2 separate regions of the Homo sapiens genome follow, and region 2 is linked to region 1. Evidence: promoter capture Hi-C in 16 types of primary human blood cells and fetal thymus (Javierre and others, 2016). All regions are on one chromosome and are shown on one strand. The core of a region is centred on a gene start or on the middle of the fragment in contact, and the rest is flanking DNA. Distances in the headings are between cores, read along the strand shown.

Region 1 (5,573 bases), core at 3,074-5,573:
CAAATCAATAATCTAAACTACTTCTGGCCGGGTGCAGTGGCTCATGCCTATAATCTCAGCACTTTGGGAGGCTGAAGAGGGCAGATCACCTGAGGTCAGGGGTTCGAGACCAGCCTGGGCAACATGGTGAAACCCCATCTCTACTAAAAATACAAAAATTAGCAGAGCATGGTGACACATGCCTGTAATCCCAGCTACTTGGGAGGGTGAGGCAGGAGAATCGCTTGAACCTGGGAGGTGGAGGCTGCGATGAGCCGAGATGTTGCTACTGTACTCCATCCTGGGTGACAGAGTGAGACCTTGTCTCAAAAATCAAAACAAAACAAAACAACAAAAAAACCCCACAAACTTCTACTTCAAGTCACTAGAATAAGAAGAACAAACTAAATCCAAAGCAAGCAGAAGAGGAAAAAATAACAAGCAGAAACCAATGAAATTAAAAACAGAAAAGCAACAGAGAAAATCAATGACACAAAAAGCTGATTCTTTGAAAAGACTGATAAAATTGACAAACCTCTTACAAGACTGATACAGAAAAAAGAAGACATAAATCACCAGTATCAGTAATGAAACGGGTGACATCAGTACAGACCCTGCCCACATCAGAAGGATCATAAGAGAATAATTCCACGGACAACTTTACATACATATGTGGGGGTGTGTGCTGCAGACCTCAACTCAACGACAGATGAATAATGTACACTGACACAGATATTCTGCTTGTCAGTCAGGCCGATTGTCCAGGCCCCCTACAGACTCCCAGGAGAGTGCTGTACATTTGCAACGTGGCCCCGACTCCCCGCCTCCTACTCGCTGGCCTTCTCGTCATTTACTTAGCACACATTAAACACAGCAAAAGTCTCAAGTAAACACCATTAGAGGGTAATCAACCTGGTCGCCTTCCCCTGCCTCCCCCAGAGCGCCATCCTGCCCGCGAATGATTAAAGGTTACTTTTAGAACCACATGAGTAAACAAGCTATTTAGATAGACTCCTCTACATTCCTATGTTACTTACCCTTGCTATGGCTCAAAGAGGATTAGGCCGCTTTCAGCCAAACTATCTGAAGCTAAGCAAAAACCTTTTGGCCTTCCAAGTTTTGTGTTTTATTGTATAATTTTCCCCACCATCCTGACTGAACCTCTACATACATAAATGTAACAATTTAGGCAAAATAGATCAATTACTCAAAAAGCACACACTATCACAACTTACTAGTATGAAATAGATACTTTGAATAGCCCTATAGCTATTAAGGAAATTTAATTCATAATTAAAACACTCCCCAAAAGGAAATTTCAAGGCCCAGATGATTACACTGGAGCATTCTACCACACTTTTGTTTTTTTTTTTGAGATGGAGTTTCACTCTTGTTGCCCAGGCTAGAATGCAAAGGTGCCTTCTCAGCTCACCAAACCTCTGCTTCCCAGGTTCAAGTAATTCTCCTGCCTCAGCCTCCCGAGGAGCTGGGATTACAGGCATGTGCCACCACACAGGCTAATTTTGTATTTTTAGTAGAAACAGGGTTTCTCCATGTTGGTGAGGCAGGTCTCGATCTCCTGACCTTGTGATCCTCCCGCCTCGGTCTCCCAAAGTGCTGGGATTACAAGCGTGAGCCACCGTGCCCGGCCAAAGTTGACTGTTTTTAACTGTACACTTCAGTGGGATTAAGTACATTATATTGCCATAGAACTCTCACCACCATCCATCTACAGAACTCTTTTTATCTTGGAAAACTGAAACTCTATACCTATTAAACAATAACTTCACTCTCCCTGTCCTCCAGTCCCTGGCAACCACCATTCTGCTTTCTGTCTCTGTGATTTTGACGACTCTAGTACCTCATATACATGGAATTACCCAGTATTTATCATTTTATGTCTGGCTTAGTCCACTTAGCGTAATGTTTCTTCAAGATTCATCTATGTTGTAGCATGTGTCAGAATTCCCATCCTTTCTAAGGCTGAAAGGATTTCCATTGTGTGGATGTACCATATTTTGCTTATCTATTCATCTACTGATGAAGAACTGGGTTGCTTCCATTTTTTTTTTTGCTTGTGAATAATGCTGCTGTGAACATATGTGTACAAATATCTCTTTGAGACCCTACTTTTAATTATTTTGAGGATATCTCTAGATATGGACTTGCTGAATCATATGGTAATTCTATTTTTATTTATTTATTTTGAGACAGTGTCTTGCTTTGTCACCCAGGCTGGAGTGCAGTGGCATGATCACAGCTCACTGTAGCCTTGACCTCCCAGGCTCAAGCAATCCTCTTGCCTCAGCCTCCTGAGTAGCTGGGACTACAGGCGCATGCCACCAGATCCAGTTAATTTTTGTATTTTTTGTAGAGATGGGGTTTCGTCATGTTGCCCCGACTGGTCTCGAACTCCTGGGCTCAAGCAATCCTCCTGCTTCTGCCTCCCAAAGCGCTGGAATTATAGGCGTAAGCCACCATGCCCAGCCTATTTTCACTTTTTTGAGGAATCATTATACGGTTTTCCACAGTGTCTGTACCATTTTACATTCCCACCAACAGTGCACAAGGGTTCAATTTCCCCACATCCTTGCCAATGCTTGTAGTTTCTTTCTTTTCCTTTTTTTTTTTCTAGTGGCCATCTTAATGGGTATATGACGTAGTATCTCATTGTTCTTTATCTCATTGTGATTTGTGTTTCTCTAATGATTAGTGATGTTGAGTATCTTTTCATGTGCTCACTGGCCACTTGTTGATCACTGGAGAAATGTCTATTCAAGCCCTTTGTTGTGGTTTTTGAATGAGATTGTTCTTATTTTGTTGCTGAGTTTTAGGAGTCTCTGCATATTCTGGATATTAATCCTTTGTCAGATATATGATTTGCAAATATTTTCTTCCATTCTGTGGGTTGCCTCTTTACTCTGCTACAGAGTCTTTTGATGCACAAAATGTTTTAATTTTCATAAAGTCCAATTTGTCTATTTTTTCTTTTGTTGCCTGTGCCTTTAGTGTCATATCCAGGAAGTCTGTTGCCAAATCCGATGTGGTAAACCCTTTGCCATATGTTTTCTATGAGTTTTATGCTTTGGGATTTTAAAAGTTGTGGGTCTTTTTGGGTGAATTTTTATCTATGGTGTTAGAGAAGGAACCACCTTCACTTTTTTGCATGTGGATATCCAGTTTTCCCAGCACCATTTGTTAGAAAGACTGTCCCTCCTCCCCGCATTGAATGGGCTTGGTCTCCTTGTTAAAAATTATTTGACCATATATGGGAGGGCATATCTTGGGGCTCTCTATTGTATTCCATTGGTCTATATGTCTGTCTATATGCCAGTACCACACTGTCTTGATGACTGAAGCTTGGAAGTAAGTTTTGAAATCAGGAAGTGTGAGTTCTTCAGCTTTATTCTTATTTTTCAGGATTGTTTTGGCTAATCGAAATCCCTTGAGAGTATATGAATTGTAGAATGAGTTTCTCTGTTTCTACAAAAAATGTCATTGGGATTTTGACAGGAATTGCATTAAATCTGTAGATTGCTTTGGATAGTATTGACATCTTAACTATATTAAGTAAGGATGATTTTTTTTAAATTACTGATTCAATCTCCTCACTAGTTATAGGTTTATTCAGATTATATTATCTATTCTGAGTCAGTTTTGCATTTCTATGAATTTGTCCATTTCATCTACGTTATCCAATTTGTTGGCTTATATTTGCTCATAGTACTCTCTTATGATCCTTTCTATTTCTGTAGAATTGCTAGTAACGAGCCATTGCAGTTGGGATCTGGCAGCAGAGGCTGTGTGTGTGTTTGTGTGTGTGTGTGATCGGAGAAATGCTTGAGAGGGTAACACCCGATTTAGGAGTGGACAGGGTATGAGGACAAAGAAGTGGTAATGGGAGACCTTGCCTTTTATTTCTTTTAATCTTTTTTGATAATACATTTGTGCATTATTTGGTCGTTCTCTTTAAATTCATTTTTAAAGGTAGAAGCAAATCAAGACTGGTAGATGCTGTGCCAAGGAAAGTCAGGGATCCTAGGTTCGAATCCTGTCTCTGTTCGCAATTCGCTCCGCAACCTCAAACAAACGACCTCAGTTTCATCTATGAAAAGCTGGTAACCATCGTCAGTTGCCAGGCCATGAAGAGAGTCAACGGAAATAAGTTTTTATTCTAGGGCACCCGCTCTCTCTCAGGTAAAAGCCGCGCCCCAATCAGGTACTGCCGCGCCAGGGCCGCGGGACATCTCGGGATTTGTGGTCCACCCGGCGGAACTCGCGGTCCCGGCAGGCACCGCGGCGGCGGCAGGGCGACGTGGCGCGGCCGGCTGCGGCTGCGCAGGCAGGTGGAGCAAGATGGCTGTGGAGCTGGGCGTGCTGCTCGTCCGGCCCCGGCCCGGAACCGGGCTGGGTAGAGTGATGCGGACCCTCCTGCTGGTGCTGTGGCTGGCGACGCGCGGAAGCGCGCTCTACTTTCACATCGGAGAGACGGAGAAGAAGTGCTTTATTGAGGAGATCCCGGACGAGACCATGGTCATAGGTGCGGGGGCGGGGAGGAAGGGGCGAGTTTGGAACGTGACCGTGGTCTTGGGGCGGGGGATGCGAGACAGTCAGCTCTCTAGAGCCGGGAGGAGACGGCCTCGCCGTGCCCAGGCGGTCGCGGAACCCATGCCACCTCGCGCTCCTCTGACCTGGGCTCGCCCTGCTTCCCTCAAGGAAACTACCGGACGCAGCTGTATGACAAGCAGCGGGAGGAGTACCAGCCGGCCACCCCGGGGCTTGGCATGTTTGTGGAGGTGAAGGACCCAGAGGACAAGGTGAGCCAACCGCCCCCCTCCTCTCCGCCAGCCTCTCAGCTAGGCGGGCTCCGGTACTTCCTCTTCTAGTTCCTGCATCTGCTAAAGTGGGAGAGACAGTTGATGTTGTGGGAATATCCTGCTGACTTGCAGACCCCGCCCGGTCTGTGAAATGGGCGGATTAATTGTGGTGATAAAAATCAAAGAGTTTTGTCAACTCTTAAAGTCATCTAGACTTTAAGATTTCACAGAACATGATACTTTCCCCACAAAATGAGCAGCTTTTAATCTTCCCAAGTAAGGATATTAAAACGAACGGCAAAACCCTTCAGCTCTCACCTTCTGTCACTTTTCGTTAAAAAACTCATGGCGGGGTGTGGTGGCTCTTGCCTGTAATCCCAGCACTTTGGGATGCCGAGGCGGGTGGATCACTTGAGGCCGGGAGTTCAGGACCGGCCTGGGCAACCTCCGTCTGGCAAACCCCGTCTCTAGTAAAAATACAAAAAAAAAAAAAAAAAAAAATGAGCCGGGTGTGGTGGCGCACACCTCTAATACCAGATACTTGGGAGGCTAAGGCACGATAATTGCTTGAACCTGGGAAGCTGAGGCTGCAGTGAGCTGAGATAGCATCACTGCACTCCAGCCAGGACGACAGAGTGAGACTCTGTCTCAAAAACAAAAACAAAAAAGAACCCCCCAAAAAACAACTCACACCAAAAAAGTTGAAAGGGCATAAGCTATAAAGGAAAGCCCTTCCCAAGAGCAGTCAGTCACTTGCCACCCTAATGTCAGACTCTC
Region 2 (5,500 bases), core at 2,758-5,257, 520 kb after region 1:
TTTTTTTTTTTGAGATGGAGTCTCGCTCTGTCAGCCAGGCTGCTGGAGTGCCGTGGTGCAATCTTGGGACACTGCAACCTCCACCTCCCAGGTTCAAGTGATTCTCCTGCCTCAGCCTCCTGAGTAGTTGGAACTATGGGAGTGCGCCATCACATCTGCCTAATTTTTGTATTTTTAGTACAGACAGATTTTCACCATGTTGGCCAGGCTGGTTCTCGAACTCTTGATCTCAGGTGATCCACCTGCCTTGGCCTCCCAAAGTGCTGGGATTACAGGCATGAGCCACTGTGTCCTGCCTTTATTTATTTATTTATTTATTTATTTTTGAGACGGAGTCTCGCTCTGTCGCCCAGTCTGGAGTGCAGTGGCACCATCTCGGCTCACTGCAAGCTCCACCTCCTGGGTTCATGCCATTCTCCTGCCTCAGCCTCCCGCGTAGCTGGGACTACAGGCGCCCACGACCACACTCTGCTAATTTTTTGTATTTTTAATAAAGATAGGGTTTCACCGTGTTAGCCAGGATGGTCTCGATCTCCTGACCTCGTGATCCTCCTGCCTCGGCCTCCCAAAGTGCTGGGATCACAGGTGTGAGCCACCGTGCCCGGCCTTTTTTTTTTTAAAGACAGGGTCTTGCTCTGTCACCTAGGCTGGAGTGCAGTGTTCGATCATAGCTCACTGCAGCCTCTGATTCCTAGGCTCAAGGGATCCTTTTGCCTCAGCCTCTCGAGTAGCTGGGACTATAGGCACCACTGGCTTGGCTAATTTTTTATTTTTTTATAGAGATGGGGTCTTGCTATGTCGCCCAGGGAACTCCTGGGCTTAAGCAATGCTCTCACCTCGGCCTCCTAATGCGTTGGCATTACAGGCGTGAGCCACTGCACCCAACCCAGAATCTGAGTTTTCATCAGAACTTAGCTGTGACCTCTCTCTCTCTTCCTCATGCCATTTCTTGCAAGTGGATTCTTATAAGAACCTTCATTCAAACCCTCTCATAAACATCTCTATCACTGTCTCTCCCACTCAGTTGACAGAATGAACACCTTCTCGGCAGCTTCCAGCTTCCAGGTCCTCCTTGGCCCCATTTCTTTCCCTAGAGACCCAGGGGACCCGACCTCCCTGCCTGCCTGTGCCACCTCACAGGCCCCACGTCCAGCTGCGTGCACAAGCTCCTCTCTCTCAATGCTTCGGAGGCTCCCAGCGCCCACTTCAAGAGGCTTCTCTGGGTCTGCTCTCGGTTGCCACCTTCGTCCCTTCCCACCACTAACCTTTCCCACCCAGGGCTTGGACCTTGCTAGCAAGCTGAACGTGCCCTGCCTTCTCTAGCCCTGCTATCTGCTCTGCTGGGAACACTCCTCAGTGGAAATGCTTCCAGGACCATCTCAAAAACCATTGCTCCAGTGAGGCCTTTCCTTGGGTCCCCCAAACAGCCAAACAGGTTCTTGCTCTGAAACTTTATCTGTCCCAGTGAGTAACCCTACCAGACTGGCTCCTCAAGGGCTGAGACCCACAGCAGCTATTAATGAGTTTTCTTAGACAAGTATTCTGAAGTCTGGCAGTTCTATTAGAAATTCTGGCCGGGCGTGGTGGCTCACGCCTGTAATCCCAGCACTTTGGGAGGCCGAGGCAGGTGGATCACCTGAGGTCGGGAGTTCAAGACCAGCCTGACCAACCCCGTCTCTACTAAAAATACAAAATTAGCCGGGCATGGTGGCACACACCTGTGCCAACCAGCTACTCGGGAGGCTGAGACAGAAGACTCGCTTGAACCTGGGAGGGGGAGGTTGCAGTGAGCTGAGATCACGCCATTGCACTTCAGCCTAGGCAACAAGGGTGAAACTCCATCTCAAAAAAAAAAAAAAGTTGCCGGGCGCAGTGGCTTATGCCTGTAATCCTAGCACTTTGGGAGGCCAAGGGGGGGTGGATCACGAGGTCAGGGGATCGAGATCATCCTGGCTAACATGGTGAAACCCCATCTCCACTAAAAATACAAAAAATTAGCCGAGTGTGGTGGTGGGCACCCGTAGTCCCAGCTATTTGGGATGCTGAGGCAGGAGAATGGCGTGAACCCGGGAAGCGGAGCTTGCAGCGAGCTGAGATCGCACCACTGCACTCCAGCCTGGGCGACAGAGCAAGACTCCATCTCAAAAAAAAAGTTCTTTCAGCCAGGCATGGTGGCTCACGCCTGTACTCCCAGCACACTGAGAGGCTGAGGCAGGCAAATCATTTGCCTTAATTGATTTGCCCACCTCGTCTTCCCAAAGTGCTGGGATTACAGGCGTGAGCCGCCATGCCTGGCCAGAAGTTCTTCCTAGAGGTTCTATGCTGTCCTAGCAAGAATTGGTAAGAACAGCATAGAACACAAGGGGTTGCAAATTTGTGGGCCGTAGACCAAATCTGTTCCACAAGTGACAAGATGTTTTTTAATTGAGGTAAAATGTGCATACCATAAAATTAGCCGTTTTAAAGCAAACAATTCAATGACATTTGTATATTCATAACGTTGTGCAACCACCACCTCTGTCAGGCTCCAAAACATTTTCCTCATCCCAGAAGGAAACCCTATGCTTGTTAGGCAATCACTCTGCCTTTCTCTCTCCCCACAGCCTCTGGCTCTAATCTGCTTTCTGTTTGTCTGGATTTACTTATTATAAATGGCATCATTAACACATGTGGGCTTTGTGTCTGGTTTCTTTCACTTGCCATGTTTTGGAGGTTTATCCATGTTGTAGCAGGTATCATCAGTGTTTCATTCCTCTTTTTCTTTTCTTTTCTTTCTTTTTTTTTTTGAGACAGGCTTACGCCATCATCCAGGCTGGAGTGTAGTGGCACAATCTCCGTTCATTGCAACTCTGCCTCCTGGGTTCAAGCAATTCTCCTACCTTAGCCTCCCGAGTAGCTGGGATTACAGGCTCGCTCCACCATGCCTGGCTAATGTTTGGTGTTTTTGGTAGAGATAGAATTTCGCCATGTTGGCCAGGCTGGTCTCAAACTCCTGACCTCAAGTGAGCCGCCTGCCTCGGCCTCCCAAAATGCTAGGATTACAGGGGTGAGCCACCACATCAGGTCTTTTTTTTTTTAAGATAGAGATGGAGTTTTGTGAGTTGCCCAGGCTGTTCCTGAACTCCTGGCCTCCAAAAGTGCTGGGAGAGTTCAGACATGAGTCATCACATGGCGTTCATTTCTTTTTTATGGCTGAATAATATTCCACTGAATGGATCTACCATTGTTTGCTTACACCCTCATCAATTGTTAGTTTGGGCTGTTTCCACCTTTTGGCTCTTTGACTATTGTGACTAGTACTGCCAAGAACATTACTTGTTTGAGGACTATAATTGCCGGATCATATGGTAACTCTATGCTTAACTTTTGAATTAGAAACGGTGTTTTAATTTTTCGAATATGACTCCTTTACGTGTCTGTGTCTGTTTCCATGTCTTCCTACTGTCTTAGTAGGAAGCTCACGACTCATTTGCGTAATTTTTCTGGCCCCTGAAGGCACCTGATTTTGCTGCCCCTAGAATACTTTGGAGGCAAAAAGAAAATAACTCTGTGCCCAATTCAGCCAGAGTCGTGGGGTAAAATCTTTTCACTTCTCAAAGTACTACTGTGGTTCATCCCCAAAGGGGGGAAATCAGGTTTTCCGGAGAGGAGGCGGCTACAATTAGGGAGGTGAGGGACCTCACGCGCCTCTTCCTTAGAGGAGGCGGGCGAGGCGAACGGCGGAGGAGGAGAAGCGGGGGCGCTGTGCGCTCTCTGGGGCGTGGGCCGCGCTCGGGGCTGCCCACCCCTCGGGAACGAGCCGGGGCGCTCAAGGAGGCAGCGACGCGAGGCGCAGCCGGTCCAGGTTTCGCCCGCCACCGCCGTGCGGCGCCTCTGCGGGTCAGGGCCGGGGGCGCGGTCGGGGCCGGGCGGGGCCCAGGTTGGCTCGCGGGTAGGCGGCCCCGCCCCCCACATCCGGGGGCCGGGGCCGGGCTGTGGGCTTGCCGCGCGCCGGTGAGTCAGGCCGGGTTTTCCCTCCGCCTTTGGGGCAGGCGATCGAGCGCCGCGGAGCGCGTCCCTCCCTCGCCAATCCGGCTCCGGCGCCGGCGCCCGCCCGCGTTTTCCCGGCGCCTGCCGCTCCGCCGCTCCGACCCGGCACGCAGTCCCGGCCCGAGCCGACGCCTTGCAGGAGGGTTCAAATCCGCGCGGGGGAGCTGCGACGCGCAAGGGCTGCGGAGCCGCGGGCCGGCGAGCGCGTCGCCACCATGGTAAGTGGGGCGCGCGAGGGGCTGGGGACCCGGGCTGGACTCGGGGGGTGGGGAGGGGTGGGGCGGGTCGCCAAGGTCTTGTTTTCGGGCGTCCTTGGCAAAGCTGCTGTCCCGCTGGCCGAGGCTCCCGTCTGAGAGATGGGCGGGGGTGGCAAGGTGCGGCGTGCGCCCAGGTGTCCCCTGCTCCCGGTCACCGAGGCACCGGATCGGGGACCGACCCCGATGCTCCGCTGGAGGGGCAGGCGGCAGGCTACCTTGCTCTCCCCAACCCCTGCAAACGCGCTTTCCAGGGAGCAGCGCGCGGGACCCCTGCGCCACGGCTGGGTGGGGCAGGCGTCCTTGGCGCCGGCGTCTGACCTCGGCCTCCGCCCCCCGGCCCAGCCGCTCCCGGCAGGCCTCAGGGAGGGGCCAGGAGGAGACGCGCCTCCCACCCCGCCCCCCAGGTAGCTCCGGGACCTCCCGCAGCTTTGGGGAACCCTCGCCTTCACCCCTGCTTTCCTGACACAAATTCCGTGGGGATGCAACCTCGTTTGCCCCTCTGACTTCCCCATGAGATCTCTCGCTTCCTCCCACACCTCCTTTATCCCCCAACCCCCTGCCGGTCCACCAGGCTGCAGCTGCGGGTCTGCGGGTAGGGGACATTCCTAGGTCTTGACCGCCAGAGCACCCGGTCCAGTCCCGGCCACAGCCTTTGGCCCAAGTGAGGGCTGGCCTGGGGACAAGCCGAAATCAGGGCCCTGGCTGTATCCAGAAAGAGAACTGAGACCCGTTGCCTCCCACTGGGCCACCCCCCGACCCCAACCACATAGGAACAGATTGGGCCTGGCTGTCCTCGGGAGGGAGCGGACGCAGGAGGCCATCCTGGGCGCGGTTATCAGCCTCCTCCCAGGGCCCTCCCAGGCAGGGCTTCTCTACCGGCTGGCAGCGTGTGGTGTGCATGTGCCAGACTGTGAATGAATGCGGCCAGCCTGCCTCTGCCACCGCCTCTAGAGCTAGCATAGCGACTCGGAGTCCCCATGAGGCAGGTTTCCTCTATTTCTTCCTGACCTGGGGGGCAGCAGGAGGGATTCCAGGCCTGGTGGACCGCAGTCTAGGGCAGCCTGGTTGCAAGTGTCCTTGGGAGAAACAGGCATGGAGGGCTGGGCAGACATATATGCAATACATACACAGCAGTGTGTGCCCATGGAGGGGAACCCGTGACCCCTGGCTTAGGACAACCTGCTGAGGTAGAAAGGACCTTGCCCAGGGAGTTG

Evidence for each region. Contacts are between HindIII fragments. The CHiCAGO score rates a contact against its expected background, and 5 or more counts as called.
Region 2: a contact is called between the fragment with the promoter of N4BP3 here and the fragment with the promoter of TMED9 in region 1, in 8 of 17 cell types (naive CD8 T cells, non-activated CD4 T cells, total CD4 T cells and 5 more). The highest score is 11.5, in naive CD8 T cells.

Annotation. Positions count from the first base shown.
Region 1 is chr5:177,587,880-177,593,452 of GRCh38, forward strand. It overlaps TMED9 (transmembrane p24 trafficking protein 9), which reads left to right and starts at 4,324. Exons shown (of 5, transcript NM_017510.6): 1 at 4,324-4,519; 2 at 4,696-4,796. The coding sequence starts at 4,336. RefSeq lists an enhancer at 5,529-5,573. The HindIII fragment of the contact is 2,414 bases long and covers 3,337-5,573 here.
Region 2 is chr5:178,109,525-178,115,024 of GRCh38, forward strand. It overlaps N4BP3 (NEDD4 binding protein 3), which reads left to right and starts at 4,008. Exons shown (of 5, transcript NM_015111.2): 1 at 4,008-4,247. RefSeq lists silencers at 3,748-4,297, 4,378-4,697, 5,048-5,097 and enhancers at 5,136-5,500, 5,178-5,237. The HindIII fragment of the contact is 16,661 bases long and covers 1-5,500 here.